Regions from separate parts of the Homo sapiens genome. Here region 2 is linked to region 1. Evidence: promoter capture Hi-C in 16 types of primary human blood cells and fetal thymus (Javierre and others, 2016). All regions are on one chromosome and are shown on one strand. The core of a region is centred on a gene start or on the middle of the fragment in contact, and the rest is flanking DNA. Distances in the headings are between cores, read along the strand shown. Region 1 holds the start of OR4A15 (olfactory receptor family 4 subfamily A member 15). Region 2 has its middle 46 kb from the start of OR4A5.

What was found. Contacts are between HindIII fragments. The CHiCAGO score rates a contact against its expected background, and 5 or more counts as called.
Region 2: a contact is called between a fragment that was not itself captured here and the fragment with the promoter of OR4A15 in region 1, in 4 of 17 cell types (M2 macrophages, erythroblasts, fetal thymus and 1 more). The highest score is 7.9, in M2 macrophages.

The regions. Positions count from the first base shown.
Region 1 is chr11:55,365,230-55,372,884 of GRCh38, reverse strand. It overlaps OR4A15 (olfactory receptor family 4 subfamily A member 15), which reads right to left and starts at 4,911. Exons shown (of 1, transcript NM_001005275.2): 1 at 3,967-4,911. The coding sequence starts at 4,911. The coding sequence ends at 3,967. The HindIII fragment of the contact is 3,478 bases long and covers 4,214-7,655 here.
Region 2 is chr11:54,749,353-54,757,007 of GRCh38, reverse strand. No RefSeq gene overlaps it. Among named protein-coding and RNA genes, the nearest start is that of OR4A5, 46 kb to the right of the region's middle. The HindIII fragment of the contact is 844 bases long and covers 3,755-4,598 here.

The DNA of each region.
Region 1 (7,655 bases), core at 3,662-6,161:
ATACTAGACTTCTTTTCATATAAATGAGAGAACTTAACTGAAGTTATTTAATGCTCTGCTTCAGAATTATATTATTTGTAGGACATGTACAATGCAATAAATGGCTCTGTTGATACAATTGAATAAGAACAAATCAGAAATAAAAATAAATGAAGACGATAAATGATAAAGAAGGAAATGGAGTATTCCAAATGATTTAAAAAATAAATGATATGGTTTGGACCTGTGTCTCCACCCAAAACTCATGTAGAAATATAATCCTCAATGCTCGAGGTAGGGCCTTGTGGGAGGTGACTGGATTGTGGAGGAAGTTTCTCATGATTTAACACCATGCCTTCTTGGTATTGTCATCACAGTAATGGGTTCTCATGGGATCTGCTTGTTTTAAAAGTGTGTGGCAACTCCCCTTCTTGCTCATGCCCCTGCCATGTAAGATGTGCCTGCTCCCACTTTGCCTTCCACTATAATTGTAAATGTGCTGAGGTCCCTCTAGAAGCTGAGGAGATGCGAGCATCTTGCTTTCACTTACAGCCTGTGGAAAAATGAGCCAATTAAACCTCTTTTCTTTATAAATTACAGAGTCTCTCTGATATTTCTTTACAGCAATGTAAGGATGGACTAATACAGAAAATTAGCACCAAAGAGTGGGACATTTCTATAAAGATACTTGAAAATGTGGAAGCAGCTTTGGAATTGGGTAACAGGCAGAGGCTGAAAGAGTGTAGAGGGCTCAGAAGAAGCCAGGAAGGTGAGAGAAAGTTTTGAACTTCCTAGAGATGAAAAACTTAATGGCAACTGGATGGAATAAAGGTCACTTTTGCCGAGCTTCAACAGTCTGGCAGCATTGTGCCCCTGCTTTAGGGATCTGTCAAAGGTTAAACTTGAGAGTGATGATTTAGGGTATGTTGCAGGAGAAATTTCTAAGCAGCAAAGCATTCAAGATTTAGCCTTGCTGTGTCTAACAACCTATAACTCATATGAATGAGCACAGAAATGACCTGAAACTGGAACTAGTGGGAAGCAGAGTGTAAAAGTTTGAAAAATTTGCAGTCTGGCCACATGATAGAAAAGAAAAGCCCATTTTCTGGGAAGAAATTCAAGCAGACTGCAGAAATCTGCATAATAGGAACCAAGTACTAACAGGCAAGACAGTGGGAAAAAGTCCTCAAAGGCATTTCAGACACTTTTTCAGCAGCCCCTCCCATCACAGGCCAGGAGACCTAGGAGAACTGAATGGTTTTCAGGGCCAAGCCCAGAGCCCTGTTGCCTTGAGCAACCGTGGGACACTGCAGTGTGCATCTCAGCCACTCCAGGTCTAGCTGTGGCTAAATGGGCCCCAAATACATCTCAGGCCACTGCTTCAGAGGATGAAAGCTGTGAGCTTTTAAGGCTTCCATGTGGTGTTAAGCCTGCAGGTGCACATACTGCAACAGATGAGGCTTGGGAGCCTCCACCTAGGATTCAAAGGATGTATCAAAAAGCCTGGAATCCCAGAGAGAAGCCTGCTTCAGGGGTTGAGCATCACAAAGGATCTGTACTAGGGCAGTGCAGAGTGGAAATGTGGGGTTGGAGCAAACACACAGAGTACCTACTGGGGAACTGCCTAGTGGAACTATGAGAAGAGGGCTACCATCCTCCAGACCCCAAAATGATAGATCCACCAGCAGCTTGCACCCTGCACCTAGAAGGGTCACAGTCCCCCTCAAGAGCATCAGAGGAAATTAAAGAGTAACTTTGGGGTCTGAAACCAGTAAAGCCACATGAGTGGAGCTACCCAAGGCCTTGGAAGACTACCCATTGCACTAGTATGCCCCAGATGTTAGGAATGGTGTCAAAGGATATTGATTTGGAATTTTAAGATTTAATGACTGCCCTGCTAGACTTCAGACTTGTATGGGGCCTGTAACCCCCTTTTTTTTTTGGCTGATTTCTTCATTTTGGAATGAAAGTATTTAACCAATTCCTATACCTTTTTTGTATCTTGGAAGTAACTAGCTTGCTTTTGATTTTACAGGCTTGCTTTTGATTTTACAGGCTCAGGGGGAAGGGACAAGTCTTGTCTCACATAAGACTGGACCATGGACTTTTTAGTTAATGTTGGAATGGGTTAACACTTTGGGGGAATGTTGGGAAGGCATGATTGTATTTTGAAAGTTGAAAAGATCATGACATTTTAGAGGGGCCAAGAGCAGAATAATATGGTTTTGATCTGTGTCCCCACCCAAAGCTCATGTCTAAATGGAATATCCAAAGTGTAGGTGGGGCCTGTTGTTAAGTAGATTATGGGGGAAGTTTCTCGTAGTTTAATACCATCCCCCCTTAGTGCTGTCAACATGACAGTGAGTTCTCATGACAACTTGTGATTTATAATTGTGTGTTATCTTCCCCTCTTGCTTCTGCTGCTGTTCTAATTTTAGAGAAAGTTATCTTCATATAAAACTCAGGGCAGGAGAGGACTTTGAGAAGCATGTGCAGAGGACAGGAGGACCTTCTTCCTGAGTTTAGCTTCCTCATCTCTGCATCATGGCTTGGGTGGTGAAACTTCAATCCCACTGTGCTCACTCCAGTATCCAGATGTTGGATTCCCCAATTCCAATGATTATGAAGTTCTAATTCCTGATATGAGATTCCTTTCTTACTAAAAAATCTACAGCACTTTTCATTTCCTTAACTAAAGAATAAATACAATTTCATGGCTTATTTTTTTTTCAATATGTGTTGAATAACTGGAAGCATTAATATTGCTAAGTGCATTAAGTACATCTATTATAAACTGAGGAAAGGAAAAAGAAAAAAATACCAACTTTTTACCTTAATAAAGATGGTGTAGGTTGACTTCAACAAGGCAATATGTTATGCCATAGCCATTAAAAATTATCTTTGTAATACCGTATTAGTTCTCTAAACCCACTGTAGAGCAACTCTAAACAAAGAAGACACCTTTGATGTATCACTTTGTATCACTTCAGTCAATGAGATCATATAGTTCACAGAGATTCTGAAAGCTACTTATTGTGTAAAGCAAAACAATCCGTTTGAAAAATGTTTGACATTCATTGTGTGTGTGCGTGTTTTTAAAGTGCACCCAGAGAGTTTAATGTGGGTAGATTCTGTGGAATCTACTGTTATATATGAGTGGCTTAAGCACCTATTTCAGCTATTGGGGGAGGTCAATTGATCTAGGTATACAGAATGAGATTAAACAATTTTTCTGTTCAAAAACTGGTCAAATTATACAAAAACAACTATATGCTATCTGGACATCCTAACTCCATCACAGTATGAAATTAACAAAGTTTATTTCTCATTGATTTATCCTCAGCTATCAACATATCTATGAAACTTTAAATTCATTAATTTCACCAAGACATTTATTTGTACTGTTAGATTAACATTCTTTTAACAATCTAAATTTTCACGTTTAATATATCATTCTCTTGGATGAAAGGGAACAAATTTTCTTAGATCACATTTATATGTGCCAGGAAGATATCACAGACCATAAAGAAGAATAGATTTTTGATGTTACCACACACAAAAAATCAATGTTGGGGAGGTGACAGATATATTCATTAGACTGATGAAATCTTTCTATAATGTATACATAGATCAGAACATCACATTGTACTCCATAAATATACCCAATTATTGACAATTTAAAATACATAAAAAAGAAAAATAAATAAATGATTTTTAAATAAAAAAGAGCTTGAAATAAAACTAAATATTGTTATCAACCAAAGAATCTTAACACAGTATGATTACAAAAACAGTACACACTGTTAAACCTATGCAATTTTCTTGGTCTGTAATGGGTGTAACATATTACACCTAGACAAATATTAATTTATATGACTGCTTCAGAATAAGTAAGCTAAAAAACTAAAAGGAAATGATAACAGAAATGTAATCAGATAGGATAGTGAAATTGTTCCTTGCTTCTGTGAAAGAATGAATGTCACATTCTCATGAGTGATACAGCCATTTCCCAGCTAAGCTTACTTTTTTACTCCAAAGTTTCCTCATGGCACTTTTCATTTCTGCATTCTTCAGGGTATAGATTAGTGGGTTCAGCATGGGAGTTATAAAAGTTAGAACTACAGTCATGGATTTATCAATGGGAAAAGTAGAATTGGGCCTTGCATACAAGAAGATACAGGGGACAAAGAATAAAATGACCACAGTGACGTGGGATGCACAGGTGTAGAAAGCTTTTCGTTTCCCTTCCAAACTCTGAGTCTTAAGAGAGTGTAATATGACCCCATAGGAAAGCAGGATAGTGAAGAAGGTGACAGCACAAATCGCTCCTCCATTAGCTATCATAGAAAGCCCAGTGACATAGGTATTGGTGCAAGCAAGTTTCAATAAGGGATACAAATCACACAGGAAGTTGTCAATGACATTGGGTCCACAGAAAGGGAGCTGATAAATAAAGAGAAATTGAACCAATGAGTGAAGAAAGCCTCCAATCCAGGCCGCCAACAGCATAAGAACACAGACTCGACGATTCATGGTGATCAATTCATGAAGAGGCTTACAGATGGCCATGTATCGATCATAGGCCATTACCACCAGAAGAATGACTTCAGCACCAGCAAATAAATGATCCATAAAAAGTTGAGCCATACAACCCTGAAAGGAAATGGTCTTTTTCTCAGAGAGCAAGTCAACAATCATTTTGGGAGCAAATGCAGTAGAATAGACGGTATCTATGAATGATAAAGAAGCCAGAAAAAAGTACATGGGGGAACCCAGGGACTGGCTGGCCATGATGGTCACTATGATAAGCAGGTTGCCCATTATCGTCACCATGTAGATTAGTAAGAATGTGACAAATAAAACCTTTTGCCCCTCAGGGTTCTGTGTGAGCCCTAAGAGGATAAATTCAGTCACATTGTTCTTATTTTTCATGTGTTCTTCTGAAGGTGTTGGACTCAGGTGTCGGAGCCTACAAACAAAAGGGTCAGTGATAAATTTGAGATTATTTGTCAGAAGCTCCATGTCAAAAATGTGATGCCTTATCGACCACGTTTTCCCTGACCAGGGCCTCACACAGAGCAGCTCATTAGAAAAGAAGTGTTTAGAATATCCTCCCACAATTATCCTTTTCATTTTTACAAATGGGACATGGATGAAGCGGGAAACCATCATTCTCAGCAAACTATCACAAGAACAGAAAACAAAACACTGCATGTTCTCATTCATAAGTGGGAGTTGAACAAGGAGAACACATGGACACAGGGAGGGGAACATCACACACCGGGGCCTGTTGGGGAGTGGGGAGCTAGGGGAGTGATAGCATTAGGAGAAATACGCTATGCAGGTGATGGGTTGATTGGTGCAGCAAATCAGCATGGCACATGTGTACCTATGTAACAAAGCTGCACATTCTGCACATATACTCCAGAACTTAAAGTATAATTTTAAAAAAAGAATTTTAAAAAATACAAATGTATTGCTTTAACTGCAATGATGAGGCTTCATGATTTTAACTGGAAGGTATATGTGAGTGAATATATATGTGAGATAATCTATTACAGATCAAAATAGAGCTGCTTTCTTGAGAACATCCCTTAAAAAGACTGTATTTTTGATATTTATATAGTATTTATCTTTTTTTGAACAGATTTTGTCCTTCCATGATCTATCAAGAAAACAGCCTCATATGTGTTGACTTTACTTATATATTTATGTAAAGTAGTACCCAGTATATGGAGCATAAGATTACAGGCTAATGTTTAGATATTTGCCATTCTGAAACACTGTACTGTGAGCTCCTAGAATCCAGGAATAACTCGCTCAAAGAACCAGACACATTGTGAGTGCTCACTAAATGTTTATTAAATTTTATTAAACCAAATTTCAAAGCTCAGAGAGCAAGTATGTGGAAATAAATGTATTAAAATCTTGCCAGCCATGAAAGTCCAATGAAAGCAAAGTTTTATTTGAAAAGAAACTACACACACACACACACATATACACACACACACACACTGAATTTTCATCTATTACAACGTAGGTCATTAGAGGAAAAAAACAGGTAATACAAATCAAAGTCGGGGGGCAATGCAGAGACATTTTCCCCACTTTTCGCATTTGTTTAAGACTGATCATGGCTAATTACAGATTAATTTGGAATGTCAAAAATAAAGACTCCAGGCAAAATCATGGTGTAGTAGAAATAATTCTATACTAAAAATCTGAAAATATTAGTTGATTTTGAGCTTAGTCATCTCAGGAAAATCACATCCCACCTTATAATTCCTTACTGGAAATGTAATGATCCTTCCAGATAAATGAGTTTCTGGATTCTTATCATTGACACCTGTATCCTAGACAACATGATGACATTTTTGCTGGTAGACCATTTTTATATAAACCAGGTTTAGTATGTGCTAAAGGTTATTTAATTATTAAAGTAATTAATACATAAGGGTTTTTTCATATTATTAGTTCTTGGTTATTGGAATTTATGTCAAATACAAAATATTCATTCTCACTTGAGTAAAATAAATCAAATAATCTGTTGGGCCTTTCAGATGTGATCCAGGCCCAATTTTATGTGTCATATACACAAGTTTGTATTAGCAGGATTATTTTAAATATGCTCTGTGTTAGTGATGATCATTTGTGATAGTCAGGAGATTATTCTATCTATGCATCAAAGCAAGCCAAGACATCTTTAAGGATCAGAGGGAGAGTAAAAGTGTAGACATAAATAAAATAAGAGATAACTTAGTAAAGGCATATGGAAATAAGTAAAGGCCACAAGCTGAATGAAATATTGGTAAGCATTTTGGGTGAGGGAACTGAATTAGTTGAGAGCAGAAGAATATCAGATTCCCAGAGCTGTCAATCAGGAGGTGGCCAGAAAGGTAACTCAGCATCAGTATCAGCACTTGCTTCTAGGAATCTTTATACATTTGGGCCAAAGAAAAATAAGAAAATCAGATTTTAAACTTTAGGGTAGGTCAGTAGGTAAGATTAGCTTCCTTGGAAGTTCTGTCTTTGGGGATTCTGATATTTTGTTGCATATATACATAATTAAATACCTTTACTGGCAATTATGAAACTATTCTGCATTTATAATGGAAATGAGTACTCATAATTTATAGGAGCTATCTGAGCATTCAAGAGAAAACTTCCAGTAGGACAGTCTCTCCTGTTGACATTTTGTACTTATAACACTTATTTGTTTATATCATTTTAAGTACTCAATAGATATTTCACTTATTAAAATGTTCTTAAGAGCATTACTATTATTCTAAACTACCGAAAATTATCACTTTGAATGATTCAAAATTCTGTATTTTATCAATGTATTTTATGAAAAAGTATATATCTGATTGAAACATTTGTAATATTCTTCAAATTTCTTAACATATTCAATGAGAACAAGTAAATCATTAAGAAATACTCAAAAAAGTGAATCTGTGATAGGTATCCCAGAGTAACAATTTTTACAAAATATCAATGAGAACAAGTAAATAATTAAGAAATACTCAAAAAAGTGAATCCATGATAGGTATCCCAGAGTAACAATTTTTACAAAATATAAAAACTTGTATTCTGAAAAGTCTACTTCCTAAGTAAATTTATGCACCTACACATACACCTTATTAGAAACGGTAATTTAGTGTCCATGGAAAAAGAGG
Region 2 (7,655 bases), core at 2,927-5,426, 620 kb after region 1:
ATGAATGTGCACATCACAAACCAGTATCTCAGATAGCGTCCTTCTAGTTTTTATCCTGGGATATTCAATTTTTTGAGAAAGGCATCAATGAGCTCCCAAATGTCCATTCACAGAATAAAAAAAAAAACCAGTGTTTCCAAAATGCAGAATGAAAATAAAACTACAACTCTGAGAAACGAATGCACAATTCACAAAGTAGTTTCTCAGAAAGCTTCTTTCTACTTTTTATCTGAAGATATTTTCTATTTCAACATAGGCCTGAATGTGCTCTGAAATATCCCTATGCAGATTCTAAAAAAACAGTGAGTCCAAACTGCTGAATTAAAAGAATGTTTTAACTATGTGAGTTGAATACACACACCCCCATGCAGTTTTTCAGAAAGCTTCTTTATACTTTTTCTCAGAAGATATTTTCTTTTTTACCATTGGTCTCAAAGCACTCCCAAATGTCTGTTCACAGAAGGGAAAAAAACAGTGTTTCCAAACCGCTAAATCAAAAGAATGGTTGAACTCTGCGAGACAAAGCATGGTTTAACTCTGTGAGACTAATGCACACATCACAAAGCGGTTTCTCAGATATCTTCCTTCTTGTTTATCTGGGGATATTTGCTTTTTTGCCATTGGCCTCAATGAGCTCCCAAATATCACTTTAGAGATTCTACAAAGCAGTGTTTCCAAACTGCTGAATGAAAAGATAGTTTAACTCTGTGAGATGAATGCACACATCACAAAGCTGTTTTTCAGATAGGCTGCTCCTAGTTTTTCCTGGGATATTCGGTTTTTCACCATTGGCCTCAATGAGTTTCCAAATGTCCAGTTGCAGAATCGACAAAGACAGTGTTTCCAAACTGCTGAATCAAAAGAAATGTTTAACTCCATATGATGAATGCACACATCACAGTTTCTCAGAATGTTTCTTTCTAGTTTTTATCTGAATATATTTTCTTTTTTACCATAGGCCTCAAAGCACTCTCAAATATCTCTTTGCAGATTCTACAACACCAGTGTTTCCAAACTGCTGAATCAAAAGAAAGGTTTAGATTGTGAGAAGAAGGCACACATCAAAAAGCAGTTTTCAGATAGTTTCCTGCTGGTATATATCTTGGGATATTTGCTTTTTCACCATTGGCCTCAATGAGCTCACAAATATCCCTTCAGAAATTCTGAAAACAATAACGTTTCCAAACTGCTGAATGAAAACAATGGTTGAACTCTGAGAGATGAATGAACACATCAGAAAGCAGATTCTCAGATAGCATCCATCTAGTTTTTGTCCTGGGATATTCACTGAGTGAAAAGAAAGATTTAACTCTGTGAGATGAATGCACACTTCACAAAGCAGTTTCTCAGAAAGCTTCTTTCTAGTTTGTATCTGAAGATTTTTCTTTTTTCACAATAGGCCTCAATGTGCTCCCAAATATCCCTTTGCAGATTCTACTAAAACAGTGTTTCCAAACTGCTCAATATAAAGAAAGATTTAACTCTGTGAGATTAATGCACACATCACACAGCGGTTTCTCAGATAGCTTCCTTCTAGTTTTTATCCTGGGATGTTCACTTTTCACCATTGGTCTCAATGAGCTCTGAAACGTCCGTTCGCAGGACGTACAAAAACAGGGTTTCCAAACTGCTGAAACAAAAGAAAGGTTTAGTTCTGTGAGATGAATGCACAAATCGCAAAGCAGCTTCTCAGACAGCTTCTTATTTTTAGATGAAGATATTTTCTTTTTCACCATAGGCTTCAAGACACTCCAAATATGCTTTTGCAAATAGTACAGAAAATGTGATTCAAAACTGCTGAATCAAAAGAATCCTTTAACTCTAGATATGAATGGAAACATCACAAAGCATTTTCTCAGATAGCTTTTTACTATTTTTTATCATGGGATATTCACTCTTTTGCCATTGGCTTCAATGAGCTTCGAAATGTCCAATTGCAGAATGGGCAAAAACTGTGTTTATAAATTCCTGAATCATAAGAATGGTTGAACACTATAAGATGAAAACACACATTACACAGCAGTTTCTCATAAAGCTTCTTTCTACTTTTTATCAGAAGATATTTACTTTTTCACCATAGGCCTTGAGACACTCCAAAATATCCTTTCACAGAATTTAAAAATCAGTGTTTCCAAACTACTGAGTCAAAAGAAAGATTTAACTCTGTGAGATGAATAAACACGTCACAAAGGAGTTTCTCACATAGATTCCTTCTAGTTTTTATCTTTGGATATTCATTTTTTTGCATTGGATCCAATTAGCTCCCAAATATCCATTTGCAGAATGTACAAAAACAGTGTTTCCAAATTCCGGAATCAAAACAAAGTTTGAACTGTGAGAGATGAATGCACACATCACAAAGCAGTTTCTCAGAAAGCTTCTTTCTAGTTTTTATCTGATGATATTTTCTTTTTCACCATAGGCCTCAGCTGGCTCCCTAGTGTCCTTTCACAGATTCTAGAAAAGCAGTGTTTCCAAACAGCTGAATCAAGAGAAAAGTTGAACTCTGTGATATGAATGCACACATCATAAACTGGTTTCTTGGATAGCTTCCTTCTACTTTTCACCCTGCAATATTCGCTTTTTTGACTTTGGCCTCAAAGAGCTCACAAATGTCCATTTGCAGATTCTACAAACACAATGTTTCCAATGTGTGGAATCAGGAGAAAGGTTTAACACTGTGAGATAAATGCACACATCATGAAGCAGTTTCTCAGAAAGCTTCTTTCTACTTTTTATCTGAAGATTTTTCTTTTTCAAGATAGGCCTCAATGGGCTCCCAATTGTCCATTCACAGATTCTTCAAAAACACTGTTTCCAAATTGCTGAATCAAAACCAAGTTTAACCCTGTGACATAAATGCACACATCACAAAGCAGTTTCTCAGAAACTTCTTTCAAGTTTTTATCTGAAGGTATTTTCTTTTTCACCATAGGCCTCACTGTGCTCCAAATGTCCTTTTCAGATTCTACAGCAAAGTTTTTCCAAACTTCTGAATCAAAAGAAAGGTTTACCTCTGTGAGATGAATGCACATATCACAAAGCAGTTTCTCAGAAAGCTTCTTTCTAATTTTTCTCAGAAAATATTTTCTTTTTCACCATAGGCTTCAATGCTCTCAAAGATGTCCAATTGAAGAATGTACAAAACACCATTTCCAAACTGCAGAATCAAAAGGAAGGTTTAACTCTGTGAGATGAATGCACATATCAGAAATTGGTTTCTCAGAAAGCTCCTTTCTAGTTTTTATCTGAGGATATATGTTTTTTGACAATAGTCTTCAATGTGCTCCCAAATATCCCTTCACATATTCCACAAAAACAGTGTTTCCAACCTGCTGAATAAACAGAAAGTTTTATCTGTGTGAGTTTAATGCACACGTCACAAAGCAGTTCCTCAGAAAGCTTCTTTCTAGTTTTTATCTGAAGACATTTTCTTTTTCACCACAGGCCTCAATGAGCTCCCAAATATTCCTTTGCAGTTTCTAAAAAACAGTGTTTCCAAATGACTGAATGAAAAGAAAAGTTTGTCTCTATGAGATGAATGGACATATCACAAAGCCTTGTCTCAGATAGCTTCCTTCAACTTTTTATCCTGAGATATTCACTTTTTCATCATTGGCCTCTAAGAGCTCCCAAATATCCATTCCCAAAATGGACAAAAACAGTGCTTCCAAACTGCTGAATCAAAAGAAAGTTTTAACTCTGTGAGATGAATGCACACATCAAAAAGCATTTTCTCTGAAAGCTTCTTTCAAGCTTTTTTCTGAAGATATTTTCATTTTTACCATAGGTCTCAATGTGCTCCCAAACATACCTTTGCAGATTGTAGAAAAACAGTTCATTCCAAATTGCTGAGTCAAAAGAAAGTTTAACTGTGTGATTTGAATGCACACTTCACAAAGCAGTTACTCAGAAAGCCTCTTTCTTCTTTTAAAAGAAGGTATTTTTTTGCACCATGGGCCTCAAGGGGCTACCAAGTGTCCATTCACACAAAGTACAAAAACTGTGTTTCCAAACTGCTTAATCAAAAGAAAGGTTTAAATCTGCAAGATGAAGTCACACATCACAAATGGTTTCTCAGATAGTTTCCTTCTAGTTTATATCTCGGGATATTTGCTTTTTTGCCTTTGGCCTCAATGAGCTCCCAAATATCCATTCACAGAATGGACAAAAACAGTGGTTCTTAAACTGCTGAATGAAAAGAAAGGCTTAATTCTGTGAGATGAATGCACACAACACAAACAGTTTTTCAGAGAGCTTCTTTCTAGTTATTATCAGAGGACATTTTCTTTTTCACAACAGGCCACAATGCATTCCCAAATATCCCTTCGCAGATTCTACAAAAACAATGTTTCCAAACAGCTGAATGAAAAGAGAAGTTTAACTTTGTGAGATGAATGCAGATATCACAAAGCAGTTTCTCAGATAGCTTTATTTCGTTTTCATCTTGGCATATTCACTTTTTTGCCATTGGCCTCCATCAGCTCCCAAATGTCCACTCACAGAATGGACAAAAACAGTGTTTTCAAACTGCTGAACCAAAAGAAATGTTTAACTCTGTGAGATGAATACAAACGTCACAGAACAGTTTCTCAGAAAGCTTCTTTCTAGTTTTTATCTGAATATCCCTTCTCAGATTCAACAAAAGCAGTGTTTCCAACCTGCTGATTCAAAAGAAAAGTTTAACTGTACGTGATGAATGCACAGATCACAAAGCAGATTCACAGACAGCTTCCTGCCAGTTTTTTTCCTGACATATGTGCTTTTTTGCCATTGGCCTCAATGAGCTCTGAAAAGTACATTTGCAGAATGGACAAAAACAGTGTTTCGAAATTGCTAAATCAATAAAAGGTTTAACTTTGTGAGATTAATGCACCCATCACAAAGCAGTTTCTCAGAAAGCTTCTTTCTATGTTTTATCTGAAGATATTTTCTTTTTTACCATATGCCTCGACGTGCTCTCAAATATCCCTTCACAGGTTCTACAAAAACAGTGTTTCCAAACTGCTGAATGAAAAGAATGATTTAACTCTGACAGGTGAATGCATACATCTCAAAGGAGTTTCTCAGATAGTTTCATTCTAGTTTTTATCTGAAGATATTTTCCTTTTACACGATAGGCCTCCAGCACTCCAAAGTGTTCGTTGGTAGAATGGAGAAAAACAGTGTTTCCAAACTGCTGAATCAAAGGAAGGTTTAACTGTGAGATGAATGTACACATCACAAAGCCGTTTTTCTAGTATTTACATGAAGATATTTTCTTTTTCACCAAAGGCCTCAATGCCCTCCCAAATATTGCTTTGCAGATTGCACAAAAACAGTGTTTCCAAACTGCTGAATGAAAACAAAGGTTTACCTGTGTGAGCTGAACGCACACAGCACAAAACAGTTTATCAGAAAGCTGATTCCTCCTTTTAATCTGAAGATTTTTTTTCACCATATGCCTCAATACGCACCCAAAAGTCCATTTGTAGATCCTACAGAAACAGCGGTTCCCAATTGCTGAATCAAAAGAAAGTTTTAACTCTGTGAGATTAATGCACACATCATAAAGTGGTTTCTCAGATAGCTTCCTCCTAGTTTATACCTCGGGATATTCACTTTTTTGCCATTGGTCTCAATGAGCTCCCAAATACCCATTCACAGAATGGACAAAAACAGTGTTTCCAAACTGCTGAATCAAAGGAAAAGTTTAGCACTCTGAGATGAATGCACACATAACAAAGCAGATTATCAGAAAGCTTCATTCTTGTTTTCATTGGAAGATATTTCCTTTTTCACCACAGGCATCAATATGCTCCCAAATGTACATTTGAAGATTCTACACAAACATTGTTTCCCACCTGCTGAATCAAAAGAATGGTTTAACTTTGTGAGATGAACGCAAACATCACAAAGCTGTTTCACAGATAGATTCATTCTACTTAATACAGGGATATTCCCTTTTACACCGTTGACCTCAATGAGTTCTCAAATATCCCTTCAGAGAATCTTCAAAAACAGTGTTTCCAAACTGCAGAAAGAAAAGAAAGTTTTAACTCTGTGAGAAGAATGCACACATCCAAAAGTAGTTTATCAGATACCTTCCTTCTAGTTTTTAATCCTGGGATAATTGCATTTCTGACATTGGCCTCAAACAGCTCCCAATGTCCATTCTCAGAATGGACAAAAACAGTGTTTCCAAACTGTTGAATCAAAAGAAAGATTTACCTTGTGAGATCAATGCACACATCACAAAGCAGTTTCTCAAAAAGCTTCTTTCTTGTTTTTATCTGAAGATATTTTCCTTTTTACCCTAGGCCTCAATGTGGTCCAAAATATCCCTTCTCATATTTTACAAAAACAGTGTTTTCAAACTGCTTAGTGAAAAGAAACGTCTCTCTCTGTGAGATGAATGCACACATCACAAAGCATTTTCTCAGATAGCTGCCTCAGAATTTTTTTCCTCGAATATTCGCTTTTTTGCCATTGGCCTCAATGAGCTCCCAAATGTCCATTCACAGAATGGAAAAAAACATTGTTTCCAAGCTGCTGAATCAAAAGTAAGGTTTAACTCTGTGAGATGAATGCACACATCACAAAGCATTTTCTCAGAAAGCTTCTTTCTAGTTTTTATATTAAGGAATTTCCTTTTTCACCATAGGCCTCAATATGCTCCCGAATATCACTTTGAAGATTCTACAAATACCGTGTTTCCAAACTGCTGAAAGAAAAGAAAGGTTTACTTATGTTAGATGAATGCACACATCACAAGCAGTTTCTCAGATAGCTTTTTTCTATTTTTTATCAGAAGATACTTTCTTTTTCACCATAGGCCTCAATGTGCTCCCAAATATCCCTTCACAGATTCTACAAAATCAGTGTTTCCAAACTGCTGAATGAAAAGACAGGTTTAACTCTGTGACGTGAATACACACATCACAAAGAAGTTTTACAGATAGCTTCCTTCTAGTTTTTATCCTGGGATATTCACTTTTTTGCCATTGGCCTCAATGAGCTCCCAAATGTCCATTAGCAGGAAGGAAAAAAATAGTGTTTACTAACTGCTGAATCAAAAGAAAGGTGTACAACTGTGAGATAAATGCTAAAATCACAAAGCAGTTTCACAGAAAGCTTCTTTCCAGTTTTTATCTGAAGATATTTTCTTTCTCAAAAAAGGCCTCAATGGGCTAAAAAAAAAAGGCCCATTGGTATATTCTAAAAAACAGTGTTTCCAAACTGCTTAATCAAAAGAAAGTCTATCTCTGCAAGATGAATGCACATATCACAAAGCAATTTCTGAGATAGCTTCCTTCTGTTTTTATCCTGGGATATTCTCTTTTTCAACTTTGGCTTCAATGAGCTAATTAATGCCAATTCACAGATTCTACAAACACAGTGTTTCCAATGTGCTGAATCAAAAGGAAGATTTAGCACTGTGTGATGAATGTACACATCAAAAAGCAATTTCTCAGAAAGCTTCTTTATAGTTTTATCTGAAGGTATTTTCTTTTTCATCATAGGCCTCAATGAGCTCCCAAATGTCCATTTGCAGAACGTACAAAAACAGTTTTTCCAAACTACTGAATCAAAACAAAGGTTGAACACTGTGACATGAATACACACATCACAAAGCAGTTTTTCTGAAATTTCTTTCTGGTTTTTACCTGAAGATA